5 separate regions of the Homo sapiens genome follow, and regions 2, 3, 4 and 5 are each linked to region 1. The links are contacts of gene promoters, found by promoter capture Hi-C in blood cells and fetal thymus (Javierre and others, 2016). All regions are on one chromosome and are shown on one strand. Each heading gives the region's core, a stretch centred on a gene start or on the middle of the fragment in contact. The rest is flanking DNA. Distances are from core to core; before and after follow the strand shown.

Region 1 (5,333 bases), core at 1,698-4,197:
GTCTTCTGGTATTTATGCCCTTCTATAGTATAGTCCCTTCCCGTTGCATTTGGACCTGGTTTAGCCCATAGAAGGTAGTGAAAGTGATGTGCAAATTTTTGGCCTCGGCCTAAAAAAGGTGTGGTGATTTCCAAGGTGTGGTGGTTTTCACTTGTGCACTCTTAGATATCCTAAGCCAAAGTGTAAGGAATCCATCTACTGTGCTAGAGGGACAAGGGAAGAGATAATATGGAGAAGGAAGAGCTCTGAGACTACATGGAAAGAGCCAGAGGCCCAGCCATCCAGCCAACTTACCAGCTAAATGCAGCCTCCTAGTGACCACTGGCAAGACCAAGAGAACCACCCAGCTGAGCCTAGCTCACTGCAGTATCATGAAACATACCAAAATGGCTATTGTTTTACATCGTCTTGGGGTGGTTTGGTAAAAAATAACAGACAACTAAAACAGGCCAGGATCCAAACTCGGTTATACTGGTCCACTGCCTGTTTTTGTAAAGTTTTATAGGCTCATAGGTGTGCCCATTCATTTATGTGAATGGCTACTTTTGTGCTACAAGAGCAGAGTAGCTACAACAGAGACCATATGACCCACAGAGCTGAAAATATTTACCATCTGGTCCTCTACTAAAGTTTGCCAACCCCTGCTCTATAGCTTAGCCACTGATTCAATTACTCTCAAAGTTTTGCTAGCATTACCTTTGTGGTTTACACTAAAACACACCCGGAGCTCGAACTATCTTTTTGAGAGCACCTTTTTCAAATGTCACCAGAGCACATGCTGCACACATGTTCTCCTTCCTTATTCAAAGAGGGTGATTATTTAGGCCGGGTGCGGTGGCTCACGCCTGTAATCCTAGCACTTTGGGAGGCTGAGGTGGGTGGATCACCTGAGGTCAGGAGTTCAAGACCAGCCTGGCCAACATGAAGAAACCTCATCTCTATTAAAAATACAAAAATTAGCTGGGCGTGGTGGTGCCTGCCTGTGGTCCTAGCTACTCGGGAGGCTGAGGCAGGAGAACCGCTTGAACCCGGGAGTCCGAAGTTGCAGTGAGCCGAGATCGCGCCGCTGCACTCCAGCCAGGGTGACACAGCGAGACTCCATCTCAAAAAAACAAAACAAAACAAAAACAAAAAACAGAAACACAAAAACCAAAGAGGGTGATTATGTAACTGCTCCCTTCACTTTTTAAACTTTTCTATCAGTTATGCAGGCCTTTCAAACTCAATGAGTGTCCCTCCCTTCAGTGCGGTGTCTAAAGATAAAGGCTAAACTAGAGATGGGCTGTATCTGGGACCATTTTCTCAATTTAAAGTGCGAAATGTTTATCTCAGGGGTCCCCTAAAGCTTTATTAATGTGAAATGCCCACTCAATATTTAGTACTACTGTACATTCTTAGACACTTAAAGCTAAAAAGAATCTTGGATATCTAGTCAAAATCTTCCTCAGCTTTACAAATGAGATTTCCAAGGCTCCAGAAAACAAACAACTATACAATGAGAAGCCATCCTAAAGCTCTGAGTTTCCGGTTTCACCTGCAAACTCAGAAAATGCCAATTAACTGTATGTGCAAAGGCTTAACTGTCTAGTCTCTCCAACAAATTCATCTACTTTTTTTTTTTTTTTTTTTTTTTGAGACGGAGTCTCACTCTGTTGCCCAGGCTAGTGTGCAGTGGAGCGATCTCGTCTCACTGCAGCCTCTGCCTCCCGAGTTCAAGCGATTCTCCCACTTCAGCCTCCTGAATAGCTGGAATTACAGGCGCACACCACAAGCCCAGCTAATTTTTGTATTTTTAGTAGAGACGGGGTTTCATCATGTTGGCCAGGCTGGTCTCGAACCCCTGACCTCAGGTGATCCACCAGCCTCGGCCTCCCAAAGTGCTGGGATTACAGGTGTGAGCCACCGTGCCCGGCCTCATCTACATTTTAAATATACTCTCGGAAAGACCCCAGAAGTGTTTGTTGACTGAGTTTACTAATTAAGATTCAATATTACCAAATATTGAAATTCCCCAAGTTTGTACTTTTAGGTGGCTTAACTAACATTTTCTTACTGTGGTCACCTAAACCCGAACTTCCAGTTCTACCAGTTTTAAAAGATGAACGATAGCAAAAACAGTGAGTAATGAACCAAATGATATCATTTAAAATGTTGTCATTAGCCTGCAACGTTCTGTGAGGAGTCTGCCCACTTCCGCCAGGTTTTCAGTCCAAACATCTTTGACATAAAAGTTCATTATGCTGCACAATCGCAGAATCTTAGCTCTTAAAGCCGAAATGAGGCTTGGAGCTCTAGTGAATACCTCTCTCGTTTTACAAATGAGAACCCAGACAAGTTGAGTGATTTGTCCAAGGTTCCCACCCAGCCACTTAAAGTGGCAAAGACATTACCGTAAAATTCTCGACCACGACCAACGAGCCCTGGGCAATCATTAGCAGTAGAGGTTCCTGAAGAACCTTAGGGAGACCTGGCAGGAGTTGTGGGTCAAGAGAATGGTACTTCCACCGACAATTCCTGGGCACTGTCTGAGCTTCATTCCCTGATTCCCTGAGAGGTCGCTGGGGAAACGCTCGGGCCAAGGAGGGGATACCCCTGCTCAGACAGCGACCCCGCTGGGTTCATGGCGGGGATGGCCAGGCCCAAAGAGAGAAAGAAAACAACCAAAGAGTGGACGTTGGTCTCAGGCCCGGGGTTCCGGAGACCCCAGTCCCTCGACCCACCCGCCTGAGCCAAGGAACCCAGCGCGTCCGCCCTAAACGCACCCTCAGCCCCAACCTACTCTGGAGACCCTCCGACCCAACTTCCGGGCTTCGAACCGGGTCGGTTTCACCCCCTCCACCACCCGCCACGATCCCACGCGCGCAGAACAGCCCCATCCGAAAGCGGCCCAGAGCGCTGGAGAGGGGCGGCGCGACGCGCACTCACCGGTGAGTTCCATGGCCGCCAGTGTCCGGACCTCCCGCGGCTGCAGCCGGAGTCCCTCCCTGCTGTTCCGCAGCACCAATCTAGGGCGTCCGCGCCCAAGGGCCGCGCCCCCGAGGCAGCCAATCACAAAGAGGCGCTGAGGTCACGTCCGAGAGAGACGCTCTGTCGTCCCCACCCTTAAGCGCGAGATGTAACGTCAGCGCGCGCCTGCGCCCGTCTCCTAGAAGCGGCCGACGGTAGGGTGGGTGCTCACCCTGGTTTCCTGGTTACAGCGTCTCTATTCCGGACGCCAGTTCTCTGCGCGCTTGCTTCTGATTGGAGAGACTTTTTGTTTGTAATCAGCTGTGCCACGGCAAAACCGTGCCGGTTCTTACCGCTCTGGGACGTTTGCCAGATAAATAAATAAAAATACACAAAAAGTCAAAACAGATGAAACTATGAAGTTTTAATTTCAGATAAAGCACAAATGATGTTTAATACAAGCATGTACCAAATATTGGGGACTTCACTACACATTCGTTTTTTATCGGACATGTAAATTTAACTAGACATCCTGTTATTTATATGGCAATTCTACACTCTGAGGGAAACATACGAGGTCTGATCTGAAATATCAACTCCCACTCGACTGGTTCAACTAGTTACGATGGTGCTTGACTAGGAAGCTAAAGAATCAGTGAGAGTGGTATGACGGTCATCCATGCGTCACAGCTGGTACTTGGAATCCCCCATCCCTGCCATACGTGCGTTTTCGAGAAGAAATTCCTTTCTGAGTACCATCACAGCCACCGTTACTGGCACCCATTTTATTAAGCCTAGTGTAAGCCTATTCATCCCTGAAAATGTCTGCTCCTTTCTGATGCTTTCCCCAAGCCTCCAGAGAATGAAATACTCTCACTTTTTAATTTTAATAGTACTTTGGCCACATGCTGGCCAAAGTATAACATTTATCAGATGATATTCAAGTTGTTTGCCTGATTGCATTCTCCCTCCTCACCCTGATCCTTGATTACTTGTCTCTTGAGATCTCACATGGACTTCTTTCTGAAAACGGAAATTGTATTTGCTTGTTAAATGTCTGCCTTCCCTGCCAGATAGTAAACTGAGGCAGGATCTGTTCTTGGTAATGGATGTTGAGGAAGTTTTAGTTTAATACATGAATTTCTTTACCCAATGTCAGCACACTCCCTGACACATATTAGATGCTCACAATAAAATGTATTGACAGTATTTCGTGGAGTGTACCTTATACAAATTACAGTGCAATAACATCATTGAAAGAGCATTTTAGTTGTGAGATTTGAAGCGAATTAATGAGTTGATGAGTAAGACTAGAGTAGCAATCGATACTTTGCCCTGTGTTAATATTGATGAAGCATCGGAGAATTACAGTGATGAAGACTCAAGGACACTTAATTAAGCTTTATAATTTGTAGTTGGTTTCACAGATAACAGCGACATTACCAGATAGGTACAGCATTTGGCCTCCTTTCCATTTTTGTAATAGGTTTTAAGACAAAGAGTGGGGGTAGAAATCCTGGAAGGTATAAATGAGGGTTAAGCCTCACTTATTGAGCCCCTGGTTTGCCCCTGCCATAGTTCTGATCACAGTACACGTTTGAAATTCCACCATGAATCTTTTTTCAAAATATAACAAATATTTCTTATTTTTATCATCAAACATTTACTGGATGTCTGCTCTGTAAAAGGCCTTGTGGGGAATACAAGAAATATTAAGCATAGTCCCTGTGTTTCAACAGCTTTTTATTTTTTCTAGCTTTTCCTGTACATGTTATCAATAGTCAAAAGAAATCCACCTTTCTTAAAAGGTTCTTTGTGTTTCAAATATAGAATAGGCTGACCTTTATAAATAGATATTAATAGAGGCACACTGTTGCTGAGTCTCTGTGGGGGAGGGCGTTGAGGAGCCTGCAGGCTGTTCCAACAAAGTCTGAAAACATTGAACATTTATTTAAAGCTCCAGCTTCTGTCCTAGGCACTGAGCATTAAAAGATAAATAAATCATGATTCCGACTCCCAAGGGTTCATAATCTCACCTGGGTACATGACTTCATTTATAGTCAGTTAAGTAAAGGTCTCCATTTAAGGCTATATTCTAAAAAGTCAAAAGAAATTTGTAGTAGCAAGATTAAGATATAAATCTGGAGATGATTCTAATTATGGTGTCCTGCCTTAATGTATGGTCTCAAGGTATGTCTTGAGAGAATTTTCTCCGGAACCACTAAAATTAGACTAAGATACTTACATGCATTATATTCTGATTGCACTTAATAAAATATGAGGGCAATTGGTACCAGTTTTAGTATTAAACGACCTGAGATGATGAAGATGTAAAATAAATGTAGATATCATCTTCCCTTGAAATTCAGTTTTTGCAACTTCATATG
Region 2 (5,333 bases), core at 908-3,407, 1.4 Mb after region 1:
TTATTTACCTGTGGAAAGTTGGGATGTTCCTTTTGACTTAGTTTTTTTTTTTTTTTTTTTTGAGACGGACTTCACTCTTATTGCCCAGGCTGGAGTGCAATGGCACGATCTCGGCTCACCGCAACCTCCGCCTCCCGGGTTCAAGCGCTTCTCCTGCCTCAGCCTCCTGAGTAGCTGGGATTACAGGTATGCGCCACCATGCCCGGCTAATTTTGTATTTTTAGTAGAGACAGGGTTTCTCCATATTGGTCAGGCTGGTCTCAAACTCCCGACCTCAGGTGATCTGCCTGCCTCGGCCTCCCAAAGTGCTGGGATTACAGGCGTGAGCCACCGCGCCCGGCCATTGACTTAGTTCTAGAAAGCCAGCTTGAATCGGCCTTAGGTTCCCTGCCTCCGGACCCTATTCTCCTGCCTCATATGCATAGAAAAGACTCGGGAGGCTTACACCAAAATGGCGGCTATATCTTTTTTTTTTTTTTTTTTTGAGACGGAGTTTCGCTCTTGTTGCCCAGGTTGGAGTGCAATGGCGTGATCTCGGCTCTCCGCAACCTCCGCCTCCCGGGTTCAAGCGATTCTCCTGCCTCAGCCTCCCAAGTAGCTGAGATTACAGGCATGTGCCACCACACCGGGCCAATTTTGTATTTTTAGTAGAGACGGGGTTTCTCCATGTTGGTCAGGCTGGTCTCGAACTCCCGACCTCAGGTGATCCGCCCGCCTTGGCCTCCCAAAGTGCTGGGAGTACAGACGTGAGCCACCCGCACTTGGCCATCTTTTTTTTATATATTTTTTTAACTATTTGTGGTTATGTTTTTGGGAATTTCTGTGCTTAACATAGTAGGAAAAATAAGAAAAATCGGTAATAATTTACATTTCCTTTCCTCAGACCTGGAAGCAGGCATTTCTTCAAGGAATCTTGATTCCTTTTGATGGGAAAAGCTATTTACTCTTCAAGAATTGTCAGCCTGGCGTGGTGGCTCACGCCTGTAATCCCAGCACTTTGGGATGCCAAGGCAGGAGGATCACCTGATGTCAGGAGTTCAAGACCAGCCTGAACAACATGGTGAAACCCCGTCTCTACTAAGAATACAAAATTAGCCAAGCGTGGTGGTGGTGCATGCCTGTAATCCCAACTACTTGGGAGGCTGAGGCAGGAGAATTGCTTGACCCCAGGAGGCAGAGGTTGCAGTGAGCCAAGATGGGGCCATTGCACTCCAGCCTGAGCAACAAGAGTGAAACTCTGTCTCAAAAAAAAAAAAAAAAAGAATTGTCCTGCAGACTGGGGGCAGTGGCTCACACCAATCCCAGCACTTTGGAAGGCCAAGGAGGGAGGATCCTTTGAGCCCAGGAGTTCAAGACCAGCCTGGGCAACATAGTAACACCAAGTCTCTACCAATAAAATGAAATAAATAAATAAAAATTAGCCAGGCATGGTGGTGCATGCCTCTAGTCCCAGCTATTTGGGAGGCTGAGGTGGGAGGATCACTTTGCTACCCGGGAAGAGTGTCCAGGTTCTTGGCGTCTTGAGCAAAGAATTAGACAAAACGCACAAAGCAAGGAAGGAATGAAGGGATTTATTGAAAATGAAAGTACACTCCACAGGGTTTGAGCAGGCCCAAGCATAGCTCAAAGGCCCTGTTTCAGAATTTTTGGGAGTTTAAAAATAACCTCTACTTGAGGTATGCCCTATGTAAATGAAGAGGATAAAGTAAAGTTACAATCATTTACTTGGCCTACGCCCTATGGAGAGGCTATTTCCTGTCATAGCTGAAGTGTGAATCGGCCTTATATTCCCTACCTCCAGATCCTATTTTCCTGCCTCAACTTGAGCCCTGGAGGTAGAGGCTGCAGTGAGCTATGATCACACCACTGCACTCCAGCCTTGGTGACAGAGCAAGACTTGTCTCACAAATTAATAATTAAATAAAAAGTAAATAAAATATGACATTGATCAAAACTTCATTAGTAGTATTAGAAGACAAAGTTGAGATCATCTACAAAGTACAGATGTTTCCTGACTTATGATGGCGTTATGTTCCAATAAACCCATCAGAAGTTGAAAATATCATAAGTGGAAAATGCATTTAATACACTTAACCTGGCCGGGCGTGGTGGCTCATGCCTGTAACCCCAGCACTTTGAGAGGCCAAGGCGGGTGGATCACCTGAGGTCAGGAGTTCGAGACCAGCCTGGCCAACATGGTGAAACCCCTTCTCTACTAAAAATACAAAATTAGCCAGGTGTAGTGGCACATGCCTGTAGTCTCAGCTACTCGGGAGGCTGAGATAGAAGAATTGCTTGAACCTGGGAGGTGGAGGCCACAGTGAGCCAAGATGGTGACACTGCACTCCAGCTTGGGCAAGACAGAGCAAGACTCCATCTCGGAAAAAAAAAAAATACACTTAACCTACCAAACATCATAACTTAGCCTAGCCTACCTTAATGTAAGCTCATAATACTTTGTTTTTTTGAGACGGAGTCTTGCTCTATTGCCCGGGCTGGAGTGCAGTGAGACGATCTCGGCTCACTGCAACCTCTGCCTCCCAGGTTCAAGTGATTCGCGTGCCTCAGCCTCCCAAGTAGCTGGGATTACAGGCGCCAGCCACCACGCCCGGCTAATTTTTGTATTTTAGTAGAGATGGGGTTTCACCATGTTAGCCAGGTGTGTCTCGAACTCCTGACCTCAGGTGATCTGCCCACCTCGGCCTCCCAAAGTACTGGGATTACAGGCGTAAGCCACTACTCCTGGCCAAGCTCATAATACTTATATTAGCCTACAGTTGGTCAAAATCATCAAACACAAAGCTGTTTTATAATAAAGTGTTGAATATCTCATGTGCTTTATTGAATACTTGTACTGAAAGTGAAAAACAGAATGGTTGTATGGGTACTCAAAGTCAAATTCATACAACTTTGGCACCATCGCAACATCAAAAATTGTAACCCTGGAACTGTCTGTAGCAAAACAGGATATAGGAAAATAGAAGAGAAAAGATAAGAAACATGGAGCAGGGCACCGTGGCTCCCACTGAGGTGGGAGGATCACTTGAGTCCAGGAGTTTGAGACCAGCCTGGGCAACAGAGCAAGACCCTATCTCAATTTTAAAAAAAGAAAAAAGAAACATAAAAAAGAAATTATTAATAGGATACTATACAACTAGGTTGTGAATAATATCTACATGAAAATAATGTAAAAAAAATTAAGATATTAAATTAACAAAATGAAAACAACCATTTAGAGAGGATGATGTGATGATGGGAGGAAGTGAGCATCTGTGTGTGTGTGTGTGTGTGTGTGTGTGTGTGTGTGTGTGACTGTGAGTGAAAAAGCATAGACCCTCTTCCCTAGAAGCAAATCTATATATATCTTTCTGTGATTTCAGAATCAGCTTGATGGCAAGTGACAGAAAAATCCAGAATTACAGTGGTTTAAACTGGATGCTGATTTCTTTCTTTTTCTTTTTTCTTTCTTTTTTCTTTTTTTTTTTTTTTTTTGAGTCTCACTCTGTCGCCCAGGATAGAGTGCAGTGGCACAATCTCAGCTCACTGCAACCTCTGCCTCCTGGGTTCAAGGGATTCTACTGCCTCAGCCTCCCGAGTAGCTGAGATTACAGGCTTCCACCACTATGCCTGGCTAATTTTTTGTATTTTTAGTAGAGACGGGGTTTCACCAGGTTGGCCAGGATGGTTCCCCTTTCTTTTCTCTTCTCTTTTCTTCTCTTCTCTTCTCTTTTTTCTTTTTCTTGAGACGGATTCTTGCTCTGTCGGTGGTGCGATCTCAGTTCACTGCAACCTCCACCTCCCAGGTTCAAGCAATTCCCCTGCCTCAGCCTCCCAAGTAGCTGGGATTACAGGCACGCGCCCCTACATCCAGTTAATTTTTTTTTTTTTTAAGATGGAGTTTCACTCTTATTGCCCAGGTTGGAGTGCAATGGTGCGATCTCAGCTGACCGCAATCTCCGCCTCCCGGGTTCAAGCAATTCTCCTGCCTCAGCGGCCCAAGTAGCTGGGATTACAGGCATGCGCCACCACGACTGGCTAATTTTGTATTTTTTAGTAGAAACGGGGTTTCTCCATGTTGGTCAGCCTGGTCGTGAACTCCCAACCTCAAGTGATCTGCCCACCTTGGCCTCCCAAAGTGCTGGGATTACAGGCATGAACCACCGTGCCTGGCCTAATTTTTGTGTTTTCTTTTTAGTAGAGATGAGATTTCACCATGTTGGCCAGGCTGGTCTCGAACTACTGACCTCAGGTGATCCACCTGCCTTGGCCTCCCAAAGTGCTGGGATTACAGGCGTGAACCACCGAGCCCAGCCCTTTTCTTTTCTCTCTTTTTTTTTTTTTTTTTTTGAGACAAGGTCTTACTCTGTCGCCCAATTTGACGCTGTAGTGGGCTAGGATGAAAACCACTATACTCCAGCCAGGGTAACACAGAGAAAGAGATTCTGTTTCTTAAAACAAAATGAAACAAAAAAAAAAACTTGAAAAAATTGTTCGGCTGGGCGCAGTGGCTCACACCTGTGATCCCAGCACTTTGGGATCACAAAATACAAAAATTAGCTGGGCGTGGTGGCTTGCACCTGTAATCCCAGCTACTCAGGAGGCTGAGGCAGGAGAATCACTTGAACCCGGGAGGCGGAGGTTGCATTGAGCCGAGAGCGTGCCAACTGCACTCTAGCCTGGGTGACAGAGCAAGACTCCGCCTCAAAAAAAAAAATTGTTTTAATTGTTTTGAGACAGGGTCTCAGTTTGTCAAAACAAAAAATTGTTTTAATTGTTTTGAGACAGGGTCTCACTTTGCATTCTAGCCTAGGTGACAGAGCGAGACTCTGTCTCAAAAAAAAAAATTGTTTTGTTTTGAGACAGGGTCTCACTCTGTCACCCAGGCTGGAATGCACTGGCATGATCACAGCTCACTGCAGCCTCAACCTCCTAGGCTCAAACGATCCTCCTGCCTCAGCCTCCCAAGTAGCTGTGACTACAGGTGTGCACCACCACACTTGGCTAAGGCTAATTTTTTATTTTTTGTAGAGATGGGGTCTCCCTATGTTGCCCAGGCTGGTCTTGAACTCCTGGCCTCAAGCAATCCCCCTGCCTCGAACTCCCAAAGTGCTGGGATTACAGACATGTGCTACCACTCCTGGCCCCGAGATTTTCAATAAAGCCTAAACCTATTTGTAGTTTGTATTTTTCTTTTCCATTGTCTCTATACATGAACATTGTTTCCATGTCCTTGAAGTCTATAATTATAGGCGAGACTTGGGGAAGTATATCAAAACAAAATGAATGAATCCCAATACTCTGAAATATGCAATATACGTATTCGAATTTTTGAA
Region 3 (5,333 bases), core at 972-3,471, 1.3 Mb before region 1:
GACTCCAGTTCAACCTTAGCCACAGTGGATGTGTGGGTATTTTATTGAAGAGAGTTTATACTATAATTTGTTGAGCTTCACCCTGCTCTTGAAAGTATTTATGCACTTCCAGGGCTTGGGAAAATTTATTACACTTCCAAGCCTTCTCTTTCTTCCAAAAAACAAAAAAAATACCCAACAAAATTTGCAGTAACCACAAAACGAATAAGCAAACCCACCTCCTAATCTTCAGAATGGTGGTTGGAAGATAACTTGTAATGGGACATAATTTTTGGTTTCTATTGCTTAATTCTCAAGAACCTTACAGATTCCAAGGATCAATGTATAAAAAGTCATCTACACTTTGTAGGGGAGAAGGAGTGTCTTTCCTCACTCATTATAAGGTTCATGACTATAGGGGAGAAAATATAATTTCTTATTTTTACCCCTCTCTTAGTTGAGACACTCCTGAAAACGAAAGTCACGTTAACAAGAGAAAAACCAGCAGAAGTTTATTGACACGTGCTGTACCCATCACTTGGGAGAGGCCTCTGTTCAAAAGTATTTCTCTCTTAAGGCAGTGGCTTAGGGGACTTGCTTAAATAGTATTTCAACAAACAGCCTTAAATCCTATAGTGACAAGACAAAGAAGAGAGCATTTTCAGGCTTCCAAAAGGTGGGCAAATGTGGGAAGGTAAACTTATGGGAAGAGTCAAGTTTGTTCCTAGGTCCTCTGGCACTGTTATCTCTCAGCTGATGAGCAAGTGTAGGCAGGAAAAGTCAGGGAGGAGGACAGGAAGACCTTTGTCTTTGTAAATTGCTCTCCTGTCATCAGGCAGGCAGAGGGAGGGGCAGAGTGTCCTCTGGTGTTTTAACCTTCTTCAGGTCAATAGTCCTCAGTGTTTTAGACAGAAATATTTTGGGTTCCTTCATGGCTGAAACCCCAATAACAAATGACAGATTAAAAAGAGAAAAGCATAGCAAGTTTACTCAATATAAATTTTACATAACACAGGAAGCTTCAGAAATGAAAACCCAGAGACTAAGGGAAAACCATATTTTTGTGGACAGTCATGCAGAAGTGTGATTGGAGGACAAAATAATATGACATAGTGGTAGTAAATTTGGGGGAACTTAGCAAGGCCTGTTTGTTCAGATTCTTTTTGGCCTCTCTGTGTAACATTTCTTTCCTCTAGGTATAGGGCAGGACACCTGTCATATGAGGGTCTTCAGGGGAGAAAGGAAGGAGAGGGTCAGAGACTGACCTTCCTAGATTCTATGGCCTGTTTCAGGGGAGAATGGTGGGAGAAGATGAGAGAGACCTTCCTGCTTCTGCCATTTTCTCAATTGCCAAGCTACTGTATTTTGGGGTATTGTGTTCTGAGCCTGTCAGCTTAGATTAATGTTTGAGAAGTGACCATTTTGTAATAATCAATGCTAATCACTGGACAAATTATTGTACAGTGTAATTAGAAATGATCATCAACACTGGATAAATTATCTGAATGTTCATACTGTTTTATTGCTTGCCATGTGCAGGCATAGACTGTCTATGGAAGGAAAGGGAGTATATTTGGAGTGAATAACAGTGTTGTCTACATTAGGCTAGATTTGCTGGTCATTGTTATAGAAAGCCATTTAAGCAAATGTTATCACTTCCGTAGTTTGACGGCTACAGTAATGAAAACCTAAGGTGTCTTATTGTTATCTGAACATATTACATATTAGAAATGAATGTATCTATTGAATTCTGAATTATTCATGGTAGTAGTGACAAGGTTAATGTTTAGAAAAATTACTTAATCACACATATTGGAATAAGCCAAAATAAAGTGTTTAGAGTCTTGAAACCATTCCAAAATCACATTTTACCCAATAACTGAAAAAATATTCTTCCATCACACTTTGAAAGCACTGTGAATAATCATGAAATAACAGTACCCTTTCAAATTTTGGCTAATTTTTTGTTGGAAATGATGATGGGGGACAAGATGGTCCAAAGGTTAGGAACTAGAGAATACTTTCTCTTCTGGCTATATGATCCTATAAACATCTACAAATTTGGTGATCAGTAGCTCAGTGAATGTTAAGGGTAATGTACGCTCTCAATTTATTAGGTATCCATTGGTTTTCTATTAAACTAAATGTATGTAATCAATTTAATATGCATGATTGATAAGACCCATAGAAATAAAATACTAGTTGAATCCTTTACAGCAGTGGTTCTTAGCTTTGAATTCATATTGGAAACACTTGAACAGCTTTTAAAAATCCCAAACCCAGGTCACATTCCAGACCAATTAAACTAGAATCTCTTGGGGATGAGGCCCAGATATCCGTACTTTTAAAGCTCACTAGATAGTTCTAATATGTAGCCAACTTTGAGAAATACTACTTTATAGAACATCTCTGCTTACTCTTAGTTAAGTTTAAGTATTTCAGGGACTCTTTCTTTAACAATCATTAACAGTCTTTTTCTTAAACAGTCTTTAGGGACTGTTTCTGTTTCTTTTTCTTTAAATGGAAGCAAATCATTCCAAAATAATAGTTTATTTGTTTTATTTTATTCCTATCTGTTTTTTTTTGCTCTTGTTTCATTTTGTTTTATTTTTGCCAAGTTGATCAATATAGCATAATGGCATATGGAGTCAGGTCATTCTCAGTTTGAATGCAGATTGGGCTATTTACCAGTTGTCATAGATTGGCAATGTATTTAATCTCTAAGCAAGTTTCCCCCTGCCCCATCTATAGCAGTATTTCTCAACTGGAGGCAATTTTTTCCCACCAGGAGACATTTGTCAATGTTGGAGATGTTTTTGATTGTTACTGCTGGGGAGTTGTTTTTGACATCTACTGGGTAGAGGCCAGGGATGCTGCTCAACATCCTACAATGCACAGGACAGAGCCATAGCAAAGAATTATCTGGCTCCAAAAGTCACTAGTGCTGAGGTAAAGGAACCCTGATCTACAGAGTGAGGCTCTAGAGTCTGACTGCATTCAAAGTCTTATTTCTCTACTTCCTAACTGTGTAATCTTGAGCAATTTACTGAATGTATTCTTGCCTGAATCCCATGTGAAAATGCAGATATTATTAGCACCCACTTTGGAGTTGATGGGAGGTTTAAATGGGATAATGCATTTGGAGCATTAATACAGTGCAAATTATTACCACAATATGTGTCTTTCTGTTCTGGGGCATTTATGGCCTTTTGTCAGTATCCCTGAGATAATTTGTTTGATATATCTCTTGATAATCTGAGTTCATATTCCGTGGTTCAGTGGGAGAAGAGAAAAAGGGGTTGGAGGCTGGAGTTGTCTTTGAACATGTACATGCTTTCAATTTTAAGTGGGAATTCAGAGGAGATAGTTACACAGCACACTGTTAAATTCCTTCTCCCACTTTTCACTTTCCTCCCCCAGCTCACCACTAGCTTGACAATTGTATTGGGTTGGAGTATTCAAATAAAAAGCTTGTATTCAGCCAAATAAAAGTCAAAGAGATTCTTTTAAGTACAGGTTCTAAGGGAAAGTGCTTAACAGCAATGAGCACAGTTTATTTATTTATTATTTTATTATTATTTTTGAAAGCTCTAGGGTACACGTGCATGATGTGCAGATTTGTTACATAGGTAAACATGTGCCATGGTGGTTTGCTGTACCTATCAACCCATCACCTAGATATTAAGCCCAGCATGCATTAGCTCTTTTCCCTAATGCTCTCGGCCCCATGCCCCGACAGGCCCCAGTGTATTGTTCTCCTCCCTGTGTCCATGTGTCCTCATTGTTCAGCTCCCACTTATAAGTGAGAATATGTGGTGCTTGGTTTTCTGATTAACACGGTTTATTTGTAAACTTTATATTTATTATTAACAAGAAGCAGATAGCAACAGGAGTTTGAAATTCGGGGAAAAAAAAGCTCTGTGTTGGAAATAGAAATCTGGGACTTACTACTACAGAAGGAGTCAAAGTTATGGGAAAGAATGAGATTTCAAGGGAGACTGTAGGGAGAAGAGAGAAGAGGGCTCAGGATGTAATGTGAGAAATAAAGCTCAGCTAATAGTTAGTGCAAACCTACTGTGTGCTTGCCGGTCACCTTTCTAATCTATTATACTACATTTGGCTTTTAGGGAGAGTCACCTCCTATTCACAGTCCTCATCCCCAAGTGTTCTGAATCTGGCTTGAAACTAATAAATGAATCTTTACTGAAGACAATATGGAATGCTCACAAAATTAGGTAGAAAATTCCTATGTCGATTGCTGTCCATGAATCAGATTCATTTTTAATTTTTGTCATTATAATTATATAATCATATCACACAATTTGAATTTTTCTCTATGCATATGCTTTCCTGTACTCATAGTGTGCACAAAACTATGCATGTTTTTATAACAACTTTATTGAGGTATAACTCACATACCATATAGTTCACCAATTTAAAATACACAATTCAATAGTTTTTAGTATGGCTTCAAAATGTCTCTTCAAATGGCTATATCATAATTTGCTAGGTCTTTCTTCTATGTGGGGATATTTAAGTTGTTTCTAATTTTTTACCACTATAAGTAGATTTTTCTGCATGTAGATTTTAAAATATTTGGATTATTTTATTTTTAAAACTTTTTATTCTTTAATTGATACATTATAATTGTACATATTTGTGATGTACAATTTGATGCTTTGATATATGTACAGATTGTATAATGTTCAAAGCAGGGTAGCTAGCATATCTATCACCCCATGCATATATCATTTCTTTGTGGTGAGAACATTAAAAAATCTCTCTTCTAATTTGTAATATACAATACTTTGCCATTGACCATAGTCACCCTACTGTGTAATACAACACCAGAACTTATCCCTGTTGCCTAATTTTAACTTTGTACACACTGACCAACCTCTCCTCATCCTGCCCTTCCCCATTCCCTCCCCAGTTTCTGATATAAACACTGTTCTTCTCTCTACTTCTATGAGATCACTTTTTCTTAGATTCCACATAACAGTGAGATCATGTGGTATTTGTCATTCTGTGTCTGGCTCATTTCATGTATTAATATGATATCCTCCAGGTTTGTCCATTTTGTCTCAAATGACAGAATATCACTCTTTTTAATGGCTGAATACTATTCTATTGTGTAGATATATCACATTTTCCTTATCCATTCATCTGTTTTTGGACATTTAGGTTGATTCCAAGTCTTGGCTGTTATGGATAGTGCTGCAGTAAACATGGGAGTGCAGATATCTCTTTGATGTACTGATTTCATTTCCTTTGGATATATATCCAGTAGTGGGATTGCTGGATTATACAGTAGTTCTATTTCTAACTTTTTGAGGAGCCACCATACTGTTTTC
Region 4 (5,333 bases), core at 1,214-3,713, 1.3 Mb after region 1:
CCAAATCCCAACCTCACAGGTTTCACTGAAAATAAAATCCATATAGATTATAGATTTAAACTATGAAATTGAAACCAGAAAAATGCTAGAGGAAAACACAGGGGTTATTATTTATATAATCTTTCCATAAGGAAAGATGTTAGGCATGAGAGTAAAGGCAGAAGCCACAAAAGTAAAATATTTGACTACATACATTTTTAAAAAACATAAAAAAGGACTAAACTCTTTAGGGAGAACAAAACTACCATTAACAATTTAGAAGGAAAGCAAAATCACTTTGAAAAATATTTGCAGCCTAACAAAGGATTAATGACCTTTATACATAAAGAGCTTACCAATCAGTAAGGAAAATAATACAATACCAAAATGAAGAAAAGATATGAACAAACTATTCATAAAACAAACAGCCAATAAACATATAAAAATTCATATATATTAATCAAAGAATCAACAAAAGACAATCTTTTCACTTATCAAAATGAAAAAAATTTCTAAAATAATACCCAGTGTCATCACGATTTGGAAAGCTGACACATTACTACCGTAGGTGTGATTAAATCATTTTCACAAAGAGAAGAAAATTATGTTTAAGAGAAAAAAACTGATTCTTCACATTTAAAAATTCTATAGTGGTATTAATTTTTGTAAGAAACCCTAAGATATTAATAACTATGCATCTTGGTTTATTGCTAAGAGCAGTAAGCTGGTTACCTGGAAGACAGTTTGCAACCCTGTTGCAAGTAGGCATTCAGGTTCCCAGTTGCTGCAAGTAACAGCCCCAGATACGGAGGGGAAGGCTTCATCGGCCTAGAAGAAAACTCAGGATGGAACTGGACACCAACAAAATAAGGATGATCTGAAATGAGAACAATCACGATGCGATTAAAGCAGACAAACAGGAGAACTGCTTTAAAGATCTTCTTATCTTTGAATATGAAAACTCATTAAATGGTAAGATGATTCTTTAACCTGTTATCATTACAGCCAGTTACTTTCACTATCCATCCATTCCTTCGTGGAATTTCAAATTGTAAAACACATCTTGGAAATTTTATGTGCGGAAGGTGTCAGAGTGAGCAAAGTCAAGCAAAAATTTTTGAATGGCAAGAAGAATTCCACTTTCCCCAAATCTGCCTGCTTTTTGAAGGCACTTTGTAGATTTATGTTGGTTCAATTTCCCTTGGACTTTAGGCTAACCCTGGGTCTTTCTTTCTTTAGGTGGCTTCAGGCCATTTCCTGCAAGGTCTTCTCCTTTCCCAGGGTAAGTGTCCCCTGGGATAAACCAGCACAATATCAACCCATTGGGCTACCCTTGGGAACCCAACGAGGACAATTGCTTTTCTAGTCACAGCTTTAAGTTGGGTATTACTCATAGCACCACAAAACTGAGCATTTTTTGAACAAAGTGATTCAGAGCAATGATCCATTCATTCAAATATCCTGTCCCTGGCTATGACTCAAACTAAAGATAATAAAATATAATAAGTTTAAGAGGGGGAAGTAAATATAACTTTAAAGCTTTCAATGAGGTGCTTTATCAAATGATCTAAAATCTAGTATGGAATTCAAAATCACAAATTCCCATCACTTACCAGCAAAGATCCAAAGCTACTACTACAGTAATAAGGAAATGATGATTGAATGCAAATGTCTACTTTCTTAAGGTAATCATTTAAAGCCCTGCTAGAACAGCTATTATTAAAAAAGTCAAAAAACAGCAGATGCTGGCAAGGCTGTGGAGAAAAGAAAACATACTGTTGGTGGGAATGTAAGTTATTTCAGCCACTGTGGAAAGCAGTTTGGAGATTTCTCAAAGAACTTAAACCAGAATTACCATTCAACTCAGTAATCCCATTACTGGGTATATACCCAAAGGAAAATAAATCATTCTACAAAAAAGACACATGCACTTACATGTTCATGGCAGCAGTATTCACAATAGCAAAGCCATGGAATCAACTAGATGCCTATCAATGGTGGAATGGATAAAGAAAATGTGGCACATATATACCATGGAATAGTATGCAGCCATAAAAACGAAACCATGTCCTTTGCAGCAACATGGATGCAGCTGGGGGCCATTATTCTAAACGAATTAACACGGAAACAGAAAACCAAATACTGCATGTTCTCACTTATAAATGGGAGCTAAACATTGGGTACTTATGGACATAAAGATGGGAACAATAGACACTGGGAACTACCAGAGGGAGGAAGGAAAGGGGAGTGCAAGAGTTGAAAAACTATCTGTTGGGTACTCTAGTCAGTACTTGGGTGATGGGATCCATACCCTAAACCTTAGCATCACACAATATAACCATGTAACAAATCTGCACGTGGGCCAAGCACAGTAACTCATGCCTGTAATCCCAGCACTCTGGGAGGCCAAGGTGGGCAGATTTCTTGAGCCTAGGAGCTCGAGACCAGCCGGGGCAATATGGTGAAACCCTGTCTGTACAAAAAATACAAAAATTAGCTGGGCGTGGTGGCGTGCACCTGTGGTTCCAGCTACTTGGGAGGCTGAGATGGGAGGATCGCTTCAGCCCAGGAGGTGGAGGTTGCCATGAGCCATGATAATACCACTGCACTCCAGCCTGGGTGACAGGGTGAGACCCTATCTCAAAAACAAAAACAAACAAACAAAAAAAACTGCGCATGTACTCCCTGCATCCAAAATGAAAGTTGAAATTATTAAAAAAAAAAAAAAAAAGCTCTGCTATAGAAAATGGTAGCCACTAGCCATATGTAGCTACTTAAATTCATTAACATTAATTCAGCATTTGAAACATGTTCAAAGTTACATGTGGCTAGTGGCTACCATATTGGATAGGGTGGACTAGTTCTATCATTGCAGTGAGTTCTATAGGACAGCTCTGATCCCAGAAAAATCCAGTGAGTTCTATAGGACAGCTCTGATCCCAGAAAAATCCAGTGTAGAAATCCTCTACATCTAAGAAGAAACCTCCTTGAATTAGAGGAATATGCAGGTAAGAAAGCCTGATAAGGGGAATGCCACCTTCTCCCAGGAATGTATTCCCTCAAGAAACGCAGAGAAATCATCCGCACTTAGAGAAGAAATTAAGCAATGTAGCTTAAAATTTAAGAGACAATAAATCTTACTGCATAACATCTAGGGACATCTTTGAAAAAAAAGCAGACAGTAACTGTGCTTTTGTATCACTACAGACAGATGCTGAGCAATGTAATCATGTAATAGCCAGGGACAGACTATGTGAATGAATGGATCATTGCTCTGAATCACTTTATCCAAAAAATCCTCTATGCCAATATGAGGAGAAAGTAAAAAGTTTTTATTTTGATGATGTTCTATCAGTTAGATAAAATTATCTTTAAAATAATGCTGTTGATTGCTTTAAACCAAATTCTGACATTATATAATATTAATCTCAAGCTTTGTTGTTCCTCTCAGAACCCTTCAGGAACAGTGGAGATTCGTGGATATGTTTCCAAGGGGTATCTAAGATCAAAATCTTCTGGGGAATTTTCCTTAATAACTGCTTGCAGTCCGCTTTTAAAAACTGCAAGGTTTTATAGCAGCTCTCATTTCCTTTTCAATCCACATGAAATTTGAAAGCCCCAGTGGGAATCTAAATCCTTATGATGAAAGAACCTTCTAAGTATTTGATGACAATAATGACAACCAGAAGAATTAAAAGTGAATAAGTACTTAAACAAAGTAAACAAATAGTAATTTGCTTAAGAAATTTTCTGCCTTCTCACATGCTAGGAAGATTTAAGAGGCTTCAATACCAACAGCGATCCACACTTTAATTCTAAATGATGGGCATTTCCATCAGAAAGACTCCTGGAAATGCGTACTTACTATTCTAATTCAAAACTCTAGGCATGAATTGATCATCTTAGGTAGAACGTGAAAACAAGAGAAACAATGAAATCCCACAGCAGTGGTGGCAGAAGGAGGTAACCAACTGGGTTTGCTCTTGCTGCAAAGGACTAGCTGGATGGCCCTGGGCATGTCATTTAACCTCTTTGCACTCCGGTGTCCTCTGTAAAGTGGGAATAGCATCATCTGCTTTGTTAGTTACATAAGGTATGCAAAGTCCCTAGCAAGAGGTCTAGTGACAAGCATCCAGTAAGTGCACACTGAATGTCCATTGCTTTCCTTCTTTCAGGTCTAGGTAAAATGCTACAACGTTCAAAGGAGCCTTCTTGGACTTCAATTCTCCCCTCTGCTCGGGACTCTGGAAGTACTTGAACAGATTAGAGACAAAAAGGAAAAGAGACAGAGAAAAGGCATTTGAAATGGAGAATAGTGATATGAGCTAAGACGGAGAAAGAAGAGGGAGGTTAGAAGACGCACAGGCAATCCAATTTATCTGGAGCCTAAAGCATATAGGCTGGAAATGCAGGTTCTGGAACATCACGGTACCATTTTTACAGTATCCTGCACACCCTTAGTACTCAATATATGAGAGTGGTTTATCCAACAAATTAGTGTCACACACTGCAGAGTTCTGTTCTTGTTAGGAGGTATTGGAGAAGGGATGGCTTGGAAGCAGGAAGGAGATTGAGGACAAGTGTGAGCTGGAGTTGGCATGCACTGGGACTAGTGTTCTAGGGATGGCAGTGCAATTCTAAACACCAGCTTTCTTTCCAGAGGCAGAATCTGCAGGACTTGACAACACACTGCTAGTTGGGATCTGAAGGGGAAGAAGAGCTAATATGTGAAATTTCTAGCCTGATAGTCTAGGAGAATGGTTCTCCACCAAATGTGCCCCCCAGGGACTTGCCTTTTTTTTTTTAAGATAGGGTCTTGTTCTGTCACCCAGGCTGAAGTGCAGTGGCATGATCATGGCTCACTGCAGCCTCAACTTCCCAGGCTCAACCTCCTACCTCAGCCTCCTAAGTAGCTGGGACCACAGGCACGAACCACCATGCCCAGCTAATTATTTAGTTTTTTGTAGAGACAGGATCTCACTATGTTGCCCACGCTGGTCTCGAACTTCTGGCTTCAAGTGATCTTCCGACCTTCGCCTCCCAAAGCGTTGGGATTACAGGCGTGAGCCACTGCACCTGGCTCTCCAGGGGCATTTGATGATGTCTGGAGATATTTTGGGTTGTCACAACGTGGGAGGTAGGGATGATAGTGGCAGTGAGTAGAGGCTAGGAATGCTGCCAAACACTCTACAACAGGGGTGTCCAATCTTTTGGCTTCCCTGGGCCACACTGGAAGAAGATGAATTGTCTTGGACCATACATAAAATACACTAACACTAATGATAGCTGATGAGCTTAAAAAAAAATTGCAAAAAAATCTCATAATGTTTTAAGAAAGTTTACGAAATTGTGTT
Region 5 (5,333 bases), core at 1,909-4,408, 1.1 Mb after region 1:
CTGCAGTGAGCCATGATGGCACCACTGTACTCCAGCCTAGGTGATATGGTGAGATCCTGTCTCAAAAAAACAAAAAACCTAAAAATGGTCCTCAAGCTTAGTGCTGCCTAGCACTCCTAAGTACAAGAAGGCTGTGATGTACCTTATGGGAAAATAAATAAATAAATACATAAATACATAATTTGTGTTAGAAAAGCTTCTTTCAAGCATGCATTCTAGCTGTAAGTTCAATGTTAATGAATCAACAATATATATTAAACAAGGTGTCTTTAGACAGAAACATATATAAAACAGGGTTATGTTTGATCTATTCATGACAATGTAGTTACCAGAAGCTTGCAGGAACTTGTGCTTTTCCCCTAGGAACGATGTTTAGTATTCACTGATTCGGTGTTCATCGCAAGTTTATACACCCTAACTACCCCAAATAATGAGAATCAACTGTATTTAAATCACCAGGAATTATGCTGGAGCAGTGCTGGAAAGAATGACAGGAAGCGTTCTTCCTTGTACTCTTCAAGAAAGAAGAATGACCCAGGACTCTGGAGATGACTGCAACAAGAAAGAGGAGAAAGTGGTGAAGTCTGATGGCATGAGATGCAAAGCCAAAGGACATTAGGAAGGAGGAAGAAATTTCTGGAAGAATCAATGAGGAGCAATGAAACAATCAATGGGAACTAATATCAGAAATGTGAGACAGCAGGGGTAGGTTTGTGACAGAAATTTTTTGGCTCTTAAGTGGCACTAAACCTCACTATGGTATTCATCATCCCTCCTACGCTCTGTAATGGGAGCCCTGATTCTCCCCCTCTTCACATAGCTACAATAGCGGGTCACCTCGCTTCTAAATCTTCACATTTGGAAAAAGAAAAGAACAGCTTCATAGTACAAAGGCATAATTCTGCTTCACAACTCAGTATGTTACAAAATATAATCCATTTTCCTTTGCCATTTTTACATAAACACTTTTATTATGCCCATAGAGAAGAAAGGTTACCTTTTGAGGGAAATTATTCATGAGGGAAAAAAAATTAGAATTTTGAACAAGCCATTTAGGTGACCTATAGAGATGTGTGAAAATAGGATTTCAATCTGTATTCAATGACTAATCCGAAAAGATGAAAACGTAATTAAATTGCAGTAGCACCCCTCAGTTTAATTTAACCTTTAAGGGGCCTGGTCAATGTTCTCTTAAAATTAATTTCAACCTGTGACTTTCCAGGGAACAGAGAGAAATAGAACTTATACTTAAATACATGCATGCATATTTATAAACATAGTTTATTTACCTTTATGCTTTTTCTCCCAACAGGTAAGTCTAGATTGCTTTTTTAATTTATTTATTTTACTTTAAGTTCTGGGATACATGTGCAGAATGTGCAGGTTTGTTACATAGGCATACATGTGCTATGGTGGTTTGCTGCACCTATCAACCCATTATCTAGGTTTAAAGCCCTGCATGCATTAGGTATTTGTCCTAATGCTCTCGCTCCTCTTGCCCCCCTCCCCCGCCCCCGCCAACAGGCCCCAGTGTGTGATGTTCCCTTCCCTGTGTCCATGTGTTCGCATTGTTCAACTCCCCCTTATAAGTGAGAACGTGCAGTGTTTGGTTTTCTGTTCCTGTGTTAGTTTGCTGAGAATGATGGCTTCCAGCTTCATCCATGTCCCTGCAAAGGACATGAACTCATTCTTTTTTATGGCTGCATAGTATTCCATGGTGTATACGTGCCTCGATTAGAAATTTACCAAAAGTTTAATATCTCACAAGTTCAAAAAAAGTGTTCAGAGCTTGCTTTTCTCTACTTATTTTGGGTTTATCATTTCATTCCTTTTAAAAATATTAAAGAAGTAGAAATCAAATTATGTGCCAGTTTGACAAGATCCTCCCACCTTTAGGAACAGAAAAAATTTAATAAATTGTCATCACTAGCCTGAAATGATTGAATATATAATTTACCTAAAGTTTAATAAAATAGCTGAACTAGGACACAATGGGGAGAAGTGTTTCATGAAGAAAAATGTGGACTAATTCATATGAGAATTATTTTAAAGGCATACTTGGAACTCTTGCTTGATTAAGTTTAAGAAATAGTAACATTGCCAAGGGCTGGCACAAGAAGAAGGAAGCAGACACTCTCCTACACAGCAGTGGCAATTTAAGCTGTGTCCAAATTTCTAGAAGGCAATTTGGCAAGATATATCAAAAGCTGTAATAACAGATGTCCCCATTGACCACAACTGCCACTTTTCTTGGAATTTATCTTAAGAAAATGAATGAAGGATGTAATAAAATTTTGCACAACATTGATTACTCTGTTGTTTAAAATTAGAGAAAATTAGAAACAATGAAAATGCCTAACAATAAAGAATTGCTTAAATCGCAGGGCCCTCCCTCTCCCACCCTCACTCCCTTCAGTCTATTCTCAGTGCAGTGGCCAGTGTTATCCAATTAACAAGCAATGACCTGATGGTCACATCACTCGTGTGCTCCAAAGCCTCCAATGGTTCCCCTCACTCAGGGTCAAAGCCAAATCTTTACCATGATCTAGCACCACATTTTGCATAGTATAGAGTTGCTATTTAAGTGGCTCTTCCCTACAAGGGTATGTGATCCAGGTAACCTGTGGTCTTCACCTTAGACACAGAAGAGTCTAGAATTTTAAGTAGCTCCCTCTGAAAGTATATTCCAGATGATATTAGCCCTGAGAGACACATAAATGTTTAGTATTTTCTACAAAATTCTGAGTAGATTTGAGATATTGAACAGAACGCTGTTTTTCCCTATGAAGTGACTATTGAGTTCTGTATCACTATCAAGTGACTATCATCCATCATCTAGACTACTGCAAAGCTGCCTACTCCATTTCCTGGCCAGCCATTCCCTGTCCTCTCCAATCTATTCACCACAGTGCATTGAAAGTAATCTCTTTTTTAAAAAGCGGTCATAATTTCCTCATGCTTAAAACCTATCAAAGCCTTCCCATTTCTCTACATATCAAGATCTAATTTACTGATGGTCAAGGTTCTAGAACATTGCTATGTAATGGAAATATATTGGGAGCCATGTATGTAATTTTAAATTTCATAGTAGCCATTTTTTATTTTAAAAAATAGAATTAATTTTAATACTGTATTTTATTTTAGTCAATATTTTCAAAATAGTATCATCTTAATATGTAATAATTCAAAAATTATTGATGAGATGCTTTACATTCAGTTTTTCATAGCAAGTCTTTAAAATCTGGTGTGCGTTTTACCCTTACAGCACAACTCAAATTGGACTAGCCACCTTTGACATGCTCCATAATCCATCATGTCATGTGGTTAGCAGCCACCATACTGGATAGTGCAATTCTACAAGGTCAGGACCATGCCTACCTCTTTAGCCTTCTAATAAGATTCATGCTATAGGTATATCTAACCACCAGGTTCTCCAAGTTGCCATTCTCTCTTTCCCAGTCCTTTATTCATGTTGAGTTTTTATACAACAAATAATTTGAAAGAAGAAAAATAAGCAAATTTTTAAATAGGCAAAAGATTTGAAAAAACATTTTACCAAAAATATATACAAATAGCTAATAAGCAGATGAAAAGATACTCAACAACATTAGGCATTAGGAAAATGCAAGTCAAAACCAAAATAAAATAGCATTTCACAACCACTAGAATAGTTATAATTTAAAAGACAAACAGTAACAAGTATAGATGAGGATGTGAAGAAACTGGAAATCCTCATACATTGCTACCAAGATTGTAAAATAGTACACTTATTTTGGAAAACAGTCTTGTAGTTTCTCAAAATGTCAGAGAGTCACCATATGACCCAACAATTCCACTCCTAAGTATCTACCTAAGGGAAATGAATGAAGATGTATGTTTATAGAAGACATATGTCTCTACAAGACTTGTAGAAGCAATCAAAATGTTCATCGATAAATAAACTGTGGTATATTCATACAACACAGTACCATTCAGCAATAAAAAGGGACAAAGCACTGATACATGCTACAACTTGGATGAATCTCAGAAACATTATGCTAGTAAAAGAAGCCAAACACAAAAGACCACTGGATGTTAGGTCAGTGGCCTGGACCCAGCTCCACTAATCACTACCTGTGTTACATTGGCCAGCTACTACACCATTCTAAGATACAACTTCTGCTTCTGCAAAAGTCAGTTTAATAACAAGTGCCGTTTCAAACTTAAACAGCCTTGCACATCAAGAGAGGCAGCATATAAGAACAAGCCTTAAATGGCTTTTCTCAAAAATATAGAGAATAACAAGTGTTGGTGAGGATATAGAGAAAGAGGATGCCTTTACATTGTTGGTGGAAATGTAAATTAGTATAGCCATCATGGAAAATGGTATGGAGGTTCCTCAAAAAACTAAAACTAGAACTACCATATGATCCAGTAATCCCACTTCTGGGTATATTGCCAAAAGAATTGAAATCAATATGTCAAACGGATATCTGCACTCCCATGTTTATTGCAGCACTGTCCACAATAGCCAAGATATGGAATCAACCTAAGTATCCATCAACAGACGAATGGATAATTACAATGTGGTATATATACACAATGGAATATTATTCAGCCATGAAAAGAAGGAAATTCTGTCATTTGCAACAACATGGATGAACTTGGAGGACATTATGCTAAGTGAAATAAGCCAGTGCAGAAAAATAAATACCATGTGATCTCATTTATATGTGGAATCCTAAAAAGTTAAACTCACGGAAGTAGAAAGTAGAATGATGGTTACCAGGGACCAGTGGTAGAGGAAAAGAGAGAATGGGGAGCTGTTGGTCAAAGGGTACAAAATTTCAGATAGACAGAAGGACTAAGTTTTGAGATCTATTGCACAGCAGGGTGACTATAGTCAATAATAATGTATATTTCAAAGTAAGAGTAAATTTCAAATGTCACACAACAAAAAATGATAAGTGAGGTGATGGATATGTTAATTCATCTTGATTATCTTGATTTAATTATCCCATATTGTATACATACATCAAAACATCACATTATACCCTATAAATATGTACAATTATGATTTATTAAAAATAATATGAATAAAAATAAAATAAGAACATACTCCTTAGTTAGAAATGCTCCATGGGTCCAGAGTTGCTAATCATTGCCTTCCTTTCTGGTTTTCCTTTGCACTTTGCTCCAATGTTTAATTTAGTCCATTGGGATCTGCAAATTATATCCCAGATGCTATAGGACAAGGAACTACTTGATCTCTTTCAATCCAACTGGAGAAATGTACACTGAGCAAAGTCTATATAAAGGGCTTCACTCGGCTAAGCACTTGATACCTTTATTCC

The links. Contacts are between HindIII fragments. The CHiCAGO score rates a contact against its expected background, and 5 or more counts as called.
Region 2: a contact is called between a fragment that was not itself captured here and the fragment with the promoter of PIGA in region 1, in 1 of 17 cell types (naive CD4 T cells). The highest score is 5.1, in naive CD4 T cells.
Region 3: a contact is called between a fragment that was not itself captured here and the fragment with the promoter of PIGA in region 1, in 4 of 17 cell types (M0 macrophages, activated CD4 T cells, neutrophils and 1 more). The highest score is 7.1, in M0 macrophages.
Region 4: a contact is called between a fragment that was not itself captured here and the fragment with the promoter of PIGA in region 1, in 1 of 17 cell types (non-activated CD4 T cells). The highest score is 6.8, in non-activated CD4 T cells.
Region 5: a fragment that was not itself captured here is called in contact with the fragment with the promoter of PIGA in region 1 in 1 of 17 cell types (naive CD8 T cells); the score reaches 5.2 in naive CD8 T cells.

Annotation. Positions count from the first base shown.
Region 1 is chrX:15,332,576-15,337,908 of GRCh38, forward strand. PIGA (phosphatidylinositol glycan anchor biosynthesis class A) reads right to left here and starts at 2,948. Exons shown (of 6, transcript NM_002641.4): 1 at 2,926-2,948. RefSeq lists enhancers at 2,700-2,749, 2,800-2,879. The HindIII fragment of the contact is 3,001 bases long and covers 1,344-4,344 here.
Region 2 is chrX:16,773,164-16,778,496 of GRCh38, forward strand. No RefSeq gene overlaps it. Among named protein-coding and RNA genes, the nearest start is that of TXLNG, 11 kb to the right of the region's middle. The HindIII fragment of the contact is 6,934 bases long and covers 1-5,333 here.
Region 3 is chrX:14,042,627-14,047,959 of GRCh38, forward strand. No RefSeq gene overlaps it. Among named protein-coding and RNA genes, the nearest start is that of GEMIN8, 15 kb to the left of the region's middle. The HindIII fragment of the contact is 2,451 bases long and covers 997-3,447 here.
Region 4 is chrX:16,608,830-16,614,162 of GRCh38, forward strand. CTPS2 (CTP synthase 2) reads right to left here. Exons shown (of 19, transcript NM_175859.3): 17 at 712-856. Among named protein-coding and RNA genes, the nearest start is that of MIR548AM, 16 kb to the right of the region's middle. The HindIII fragment of the contact is 1,894 bases long and covers 1,517-3,410 here.
Region 5 is chrX:16,438,510-16,443,842 of GRCh38, forward strand. It overlaps LOC124905249 (a long non-coding RNA gene), which reads right to left. Exons shown (of 2, transcript XR_007068397.1): 2 at 1-552. Among named protein-coding and RNA genes, the nearest start is that of MIR548AM, 190 kb to the right of the region's middle. The HindIII fragment of the contact is 5,651 bases long and covers 334-5,333 here.